Regions from separate parts of the Homo sapiens genome. Here region 1 is linked to region 2. The links are contacts of gene promoters, found by promoter capture Hi-C in human tissues and cell types (Jung and others, 2019). All regions are on one chromosome and are shown on one strand. Each heading gives the region's core, a stretch centred on a gene start or on the middle of the fragment in contact. The rest is flanking DNA. Distances are from core to core; before and after follow the strand shown.

Region 1 (3,978 bases), core at 561-3,060, 140 kb after region 2:
CCTACAACTGGTTTATCACACGGCTCCTTAGCCCCTTTATTAGAACTTTTCCTTTTATCACCTTGTGTAATTGTGTAATCATATTATTTTATGATCACTTTTTTTGCAGGTAAAATGCTTTATTTATAAGGCTTATATGTATAAAATTCAACTGTAGACACACAGGTCGGAGACTATGTTAATTCATTTTTTATCTCCCATGGTTCTTACTTTCCTGATATTCATCGTGAAGCATGGGGCAATAGTACTTTTTAGTATTAACATGTAGGTAAACAAAGATATTTCCTATTTTATGCATCAATTTAATATTTGATATGTTCTGCTGTACTTCTGGATACAAAGTGCTCCTTGATTTTATCATTCAATTCCATTTGACTCAGTACACCTATGACTCAAACCAACCATGTGGTCAATGGAAAAAACACAGAGATACGGCCTTAGCCACTATAGTCAAAGGTATACATTTTGTCTTTACAGCCACTTTCCTGTCTATTTCTTTGGAAAAAATCATTTGCCTACATAATATGGTCCTGGGAGGTTTTCAGTCAGAATATACCATCCTCCTGGTTGAAATGATTACTTTAAAAATGGCAGATGAAGCTTCCAATGCAATAAAATATTGATCTACATACTCTGATGACAGTAAATAGAACTATGTTTGCTTTTTATCTGTATGACTCATGTTTATGGTTTCCTACAAAATGTTCATTTCTGTGTGTTTATCAGAGAGTCAAAACATTCCTTATGATTATCCCCCAAAAAATGCCAGATGCAAGGAGTTGGAGGAGCAGATCTTGTTGAGATACAGGCTGCAGAGAAATTCCGTTTGCTCATTCTTTTGTAGTATTGATTGGTATGGCTCTTAGGGAGTAAAATGATATGTATCATCCAAAAAATAAATACATCAAGAATGATATCCCAATTTTTTGCTAGGATTTGTCCCCAAATTTCTTCAGGCTGTGTTACAGGTCAGGTTCCTCAAAAACAGACTCTCAGATGAAGGATTACATAAAGGATGTTAAGTACCTGTGGATGAGAAAGAAAGGATTGGGCAAAGGCAGATATTGAATTGTGATGCAGTAACACAAAGGCTTCAGCTAACAGTATAGGGAGCTCTGGAGGTGAGTGCCCTTTCAAGTTTATCTTGATATAAGGCAACAAGTCCAAGCTTTTATACTCCCACACGAACCAGCCGTTTGATACATCTGGCACTGGGAGAAAGTGTGACTTTGAGAAGGCACTTCTGTTTAGCTGAGAGCCATACAAGGAAGATTCAGTTGAAAGCTTCTGACTCCCAGGTGCTGAGACAATGAGGCTTCAGTCCAAAGTGGAGACACACCATTGCACCCATTGTAAATGGAAAACCAGTTTTTAAATCAAAAGATAAGGAAGACATATATATATATATACACACACACACACACATATATATACATATATACACACATATATGCAGATAGATAGATAGATAGATGGATAGATAGATAGATAGATAGATAGATAGATAGATAGATAGATAAATTTTCCTGATCAGACTCCTTTGCTTAGGGCTAGCAGCATATATCCAAAAGTCCATTAAAATATCCAACTCAATCTCCCACATATTCCAGAAACAAAAGTGATCATTTTGATTCTTTTCTAAATCTAATTTTACCCCCTAATTTCTGACTCATTTGAAAGAATACTGCCCACAGTTTTAGGAATCAAAGCATGAAGGCCATCCTTGACTCTCTGTCTGCATTTTTTTCTGATTAAATGACCCTACCTAATAAATCATAGACTGTAATGACTAGTAATGTCTTTAATTCAACAACTTTCCATCATCTCTACTTCCACTGCATTGGTCTTAAAGGCAGTCATCTCTCTATGGTATCCCTTTATTCCAGTTCATCTTGCACCTGTTAGACTGAGTAACTTCCAAAAATTGCACCTGTTAACTTCCAAAAATTAATATCTAATTGCAATTTGTCCCAAATTTATAAGAATTTATTACTTTCTTTCTGCACTTAGAATAATTCCAGACTATTTAACAGCATTGATTTCACCCTGTAATCTGGCTTTGTCTCTTGTTCCATTCTTCAGTCTCACTGTAGTGGACCATTCTTTCTCCCATCTCTAAGACTTGTACATTTTACCCTTGTCTACAAAGTTGTTGTTGTTGTTGTTTTTCCTCTGCCTTATTCACCTGGAAAACTGTCTCATCTTTCACTTCTCAGATTAAATATTTACATAATTTTATAGAATGCCACCTTGAGAATAAATTCTCCAAGATGTGTTCTACATGCCCTCATAATTACCTGCTTAATTGTCTTGCCAGACATGAGCAGAAACAGTGGAATAAAGACCTACAAAAAGCTATTCCTTCATAAAATCAACAAGAACATTGACAAAAACTGTCAAAACAAACTTCCTCAGAATACTGTGAATTAACCAAAGACTTGCAAAAATCTGGCAAGCATTTACTCAAGAAAATAGGTGAATTTAATTGAAAACAGTGACCTTTGTGGAGATTTAACTTGCTCTATTCCTATTCCGTATTCCTCAGCTTCACAGTAGCCTTGAAAAACTATAGTAGGTCTTACAACTATAGTAGCAGTAGTGAACTGTAGCCCAACAGGTCTCAGAGGGGCCATAAAGGGTTTAGAAGTCCCAAAAATTATTCTTAGAGTACTGTCATTATTCAAACTATCAAACATGATCTTGGAAATTCCCACCTACGACTTTAGTTGATCTCAAACAGAGCTCGCTCAGTGCAAATGACTTTTTCCCTAGGGGTATTTGACAAAAACAATCAGCACCTATTGCTGTACATTGCAGCTGCTTAATATGGAATAACAGCTGGGGCAAAGGAAAAGCTGACCAAAAAACTTAAGAGGGAAACTTAAGGGATGGGCTGCCTATAGTAGTTCATTGAAATGATACAAAATATTGATACAGCTTCAATGAATGGAGGAACACCAGAGTCCTTTGTCTCACGCCAATTTAGATAAGACAACATGGACACACATGGAGTGGTTTTAAGGAACAGAGAGTTTAATAGGCAAGAAAGAAAGAAGAAGCTCCCAGCTACAGAGACGGGGGGTCGGTGAGGGGTGGGGGTGGCTCCAAGCAGAGAGAGGAAACCCCAAGTATGGTGGAAACAATCTGTTATATTAGAAGGCTGGAGGAGGTGGTGTCTGATTTTTATAGGCCCAGGGGATTGGTTTGACTTAGTATGTCATTCACATAGCCTGCAAAAAAACTGGCTCTCCCACCCTAGTCTTTTAATATGCAAATGCAGGCCGCCATGATTTTCTGCACAGTGGAGACCTCTGGGGGTGCCATGATGCTTGGCACATGTGGTGACAAGGAGAAGAAGGTGGGACTTGCCATATTGGATGGACCCAGCTTCTAATAGCCAGCATTTGCATATCAAAGCTTGCTGGCTTGGCCCTTCAAGCCATTTTTTTGCTAAAAAAGAAATGTTTCTGGAGCTGCTTTTATTTAAAGAAAAAAACCTTACCAAGGACCACTTATCCTATCTGCCTGAAATAATTTCTTAATAATTTCTATAATAATATGATCATCAATATCATGAAAATGACCACACTGCCCAAAGCAATCTACTGATTCAATGCAATTCCCATGAAAATATCAACATCATTTTTCACAGAACTACAGAAAACAATTCTAAAATTCATATGGAACCAAAAAAAGAGCCTGAATAGCCAAAGCAATCCTAAGTAAAAAGAACAAATCTGGAGGCATCACATTACCTGACTTCAAATTATACTACAAGGCTATCATAAACAAAACAGCATGGTACTGGTATAAAATTAAATACGTAAGCCAATGGAACAGGATAGATAGATAACCCAGAAATTAAGCCAAATACTTATAACCAACTGATCTTTGACAAAATGTACGTAGATTGGGGAAATAATTCAATAAATGGTGCTGGAAAAACTGGACAGCCACATGTAGAAGAAAGAAACTGTA
Region 2 (4,071 bases), core at 255-2,754:
ACCTCACCTTATGAATTGCCTCTTTAGCAAAATCAACTGCAGAAAGGAAAGACATTGTCTGTTAAATGAAAGGTAATAAATGGAATTCGCAGGTGGACAAAAATACCTCCTGAAATCCCGTAACCCAGCGGGGTACAGATGAGACACGCCCTCTGCAGATACAGTGTGCAACTACCAGTGTGACTCTGAGTGCCCGTTTTCTGTCTCTGCACCGAAGCACCAAAAGCAAAGATTCCAGGCTGAAGCAAATTTTTTTTTTTTTTTTTTGAGACGGAGTCTTGCTCAGTTGCCCAGGCTGGAGTGCAGTGGCACGATCTCGGCTCACTGCAAGCTCCGCCTCCCGGGTTCACACCATTCTCCTGCCTCAGCCTCTCGAGTAGCTGGGACTACAGGTACCCGCCACCAGGCCCGGCTAATTTTTTGTATTTTTAGTAGAGACGGGGTTTCATTGTGTTAGCCAGGATAGTCTCGATCTCCTGACCTCATGATCCACCCGCCTCGGCCTCCCCAAGTGCTGGGATTACAGGTGACAGACACCGCGCCCAGCCAGTTTTACAGCTTTTTATAAAGATAAACATACTTATATGATGCAGCAATTCAATTTCTGGGAATTTATCCAAGAGAAAACTTGCTCACACAAAAATGCCTGTGTACAGCAGTTTCATACATAACAGTCCCACCCTAGAAACAAAAGTCCATCAACTAGTGATCAAAGAGATAATTTCTGGTATAACATGCAATAGGAATACTACTAAGAAATAAAAGGGAATGAACTACTTACCTGCACAACAACTTGAGTGAATCTCAAAAGTATTATAAATGAAATAAGCAAGAGACAAGACACTACATATTATATGATACCATTTATATAAAATTCTATGAAAGGGGCTGGCCGTGGTGGCTCATGCCTGTAATCCCAGTACTTTGGGTGACTGAAGCCAGAAGATCACTTAAGCCCAGGAGTTCAAGACCAGTCTGGGCAATATAATGAGACCTAGTCTCTACAAAAAATAAAATTAGCAGGGCATGATGGTGCGCGACTGTAGTCCCAGCTACTTGGGTGGGTAGGGCAGGAGGATTGCTTGAGCCAAGGAGGTCAAAGTTGCAATGGGCCAAGTTTTCCCCACTGCACTCCAGCCTGGGCAACACAGTGAGACCCTGCCTCAAAAAAAAAAAATTCCATGAAAGGAAAAACTATGTTGATATAAAGCAAAGTAATGCTTGCCAGGGTCCAGGGTCAGAAAAGATAGTGATTACACAAGGAAAAAAAGAAAGATGATGGAAATGTTCCATAGCACGGTTGTTGTGGTGTTTACATGATTGACTTTACGATCCTTTTGTTATGGATGAGTTAATTTTTAAATTCCTTCCTTAAACTAACAAGTCTGCCTACTTTTATCTTTGATCTAAAATTAGTACTGATGTTTTCCATTTGGATTGGTTAAGTCTCTTTTGACTGAAGCTTGCTCAGTGCCTAAATAAGTGATGTACATGAAAAGCTTTCTAGTCCTCTCCTACTGATCTCCATCGGTTAGCGCCTTGCCATGATTAATCCAGAGCTGCGGGATGGCAGAGCTGATGGCTTCATACATCGGATAGGTAAGTTTTATAGAGTGAATGAGAAGGAAGTAAAGGAAAGATAAAACAAAATACAGGACAGCTTAAAAATATGGACTCTTTACTTACTGTGAAAGTCTACTAAAGTAAGTGAGGGATGGGGAAGCACTTCCGGAGAATTGTGGAAGCCTGTTAGAGCATGTAGAGTTTTATGTCTGCAAGAGAGGGTATAAGCTTGTGTGTAAGAAGGTTTTGGGGCAGAATTTTATGGTACGTGTATTATATCTCAATAAGAATATTTTTAAAATGTACTTTCACAGGGAAAAAATTGCTTAACACTTTTATACAGAATAAAAAGCAAATGCTTCACTCTGGAAGGAGGCTTGATGATTGTGACTTCATAAGACTGAAAAGAACTTTTCAAAAATTTTAAGATTCAGCTAAGGCCAACAATGAAGTTTGTTTTCAGTGGATTGAAACATAAACAAACCAATAAATAAAAACAAGGTACACATACAAACACCCTCCATTCACAATAGTTCTGAGGGTTTATGTTAAAGAAAACGAATGAATTGTATGCCAAATGACTGGAATAGGAAGCCTGCCAAAACTTTAAGATAAAGACAGTGAAGAGATAAAAAGTAAAATCTTGAAATGAGTTAAGGACTCCAGCTGAAACCACTATCAGAGTTTACTGATATGAATTCCCAGGGCAATTGGGATAATTCTTTTAATAATAAGTAAGCCTGATACTCTTAAAGGTTGAAGAGACCTCAGTAGCTACCTAGTAAAACTTTTCATCTACCATACGATTTCTAGCTACAGCATTTCTAGCAGCCTATACTAGAATGTTTTCAGTGATAATATCTCTCTGTCTTAGAAGACTTTCCATTTTAATTTAAGGATGTTCTATTTAGAAGTTTCTTTAGGGTAAGGTTAAATTTACTTCGTTGTATATTCTAACTATTGGTCATAGTTACGAACTCTTGATCTATGAAAACTTCATAAGAAAATTTTTAAAAATTAGTCTACATTTTACACAATTGGACATTAGTATTACAAAAAGAAATAAGATTCCATCCCTTTAGCCAAATAAATTAGTCAGGCTTGTCTGGGTAACAGATTTAAGAGTTTAGAGAGTAAAAAGTGGAAGAAAATTTATCTCATTGCATAACGAGAAGACAAAATATGAAGTACTGTGAAGCATGTACTGGAAGATTATGAGAAAGCCGGGCTGCAGGAATCATTAGAACATCTAGTCTGAGAATTTAATTAAAGCATAATAAAAATGCTCCAAAAGAAAAGATATTAATGAAATGAAGAAGCACCAAGAACACAATAAAAACCAAGTGAAAATAATAATTATAGAAATATAGTGTTTGAAATAAAGAACACTTTGAGGAGTTAATTAATAGAATGGACGCTGATTAAGAATGAATAAGACCTAGGAGATGCTATTAAAAACATGACAGAAAAGAAAACAGTTAGAAAATATAAAATAAAAGCTGAGAGATATGAAAAATAGAAGTAGAAATGCCACCTTCTAGATAACAAGAATCTGAAACAGAGAGAGAGAAAAAAAGAATAGCGGATAGGAAATATTTGAAGAAATAATATTCCAACTTCTAAAACTAATAAAAGCCAAATACCTCAAACTGAAACTTCAAAAGTGTACAAACAAAATAGATAAGAAAAAAACATGCATCTGGCACAATAGAGTGAAAGAAAAATATACAAAATTAAAAAATGAGATAATAGGAGACGTTAGTGAAAAAGAGAAGAAATGAGAGGGATAACAAATCAAATGGTGGCTATTAGAAAAGACGAGAGAACTAGATGTCTAAAAGTTTGCAGAAGACGATACAATAAAGAAAATATCAAAAAAGTACAAATAATCACAAAAACCACAAATATTAAAATTTAATAAAACATTATGGAAATAATTCATCAATTATTATGGGGCAAACTCTGTTCCCTTAAAATTTTATATATTGAGGCTCTAACCCCCTCTACCTCAGAATGTGATCTGGTTTGGAGATAGTGTCTTTACCACGTTAAAATTAGGTCGGTAGGTTGGGACCTAATTTAATATTACTGGTGTTCTCATAAAAAAGGAAAATTTAGAGACGGATCCATATACAGGGAGAATGCCATCTTCAAGCCAAGGAGAATGGCCTGGAACAGATTCTTTCCTTACAGGCCTCACAAGGAACCCATCCGACCAACATCTTAATTTCAGACTTCTTGTCTCCAGAACTGTACGACAATACATTCCTGTTAATTTTAGCCGCCCAGTTTGTGACAACTTGTTACGGCAGGCCTAGCAAACTAAAACACTAATGCGCTTATAAATATTAAAAAAAGAAGGTAGAGGTCTAAAAAATATAAAATGCCAAAATGTAATGAGAAGAAATAAATAATTATAGAATTATAGAAATTAAAAATAAATACATTGAAAAGGCAACTAAAATAGAGTAATCTACTGATCTTTCAAGAAATAGCTAATTTTTGTAT

The links. Contacts are between HindIII fragments. The study calls those that stand out against the background at their distance.
Region 1: a contact is called between a fragment that was not itself captured here and the fragment with the promoter of CLEC2A in region 2, in 1 of the 25 tissues and cell types used here (mesenchymal stem cells).

What each region holds. Positions count from the first base shown.
Region 1 is chr12:9,789,871-9,793,848 of GRCh38, reverse strand. No RefSeq gene overlaps it. Among named protein-coding and RNA genes, the nearest start is that of CD69, 31 kb to the right of the region's middle. The HindIII fragment of the contact is 3,981 bases long and covers 1-3,800 here.
Region 2 is chr12:9,929,803-9,933,873 of GRCh38, reverse strand. It overlaps CLEC2A (C-type lectin domain family 2 member A), which reads left to right and starts at 1,504. Exons shown (of 5, transcript NM_001130711.2): 1 at 1,504-1,599. The coding sequence starts at 1,545. The HindIII fragment of the contact is 8,050 bases long and covers 335-4,071 here.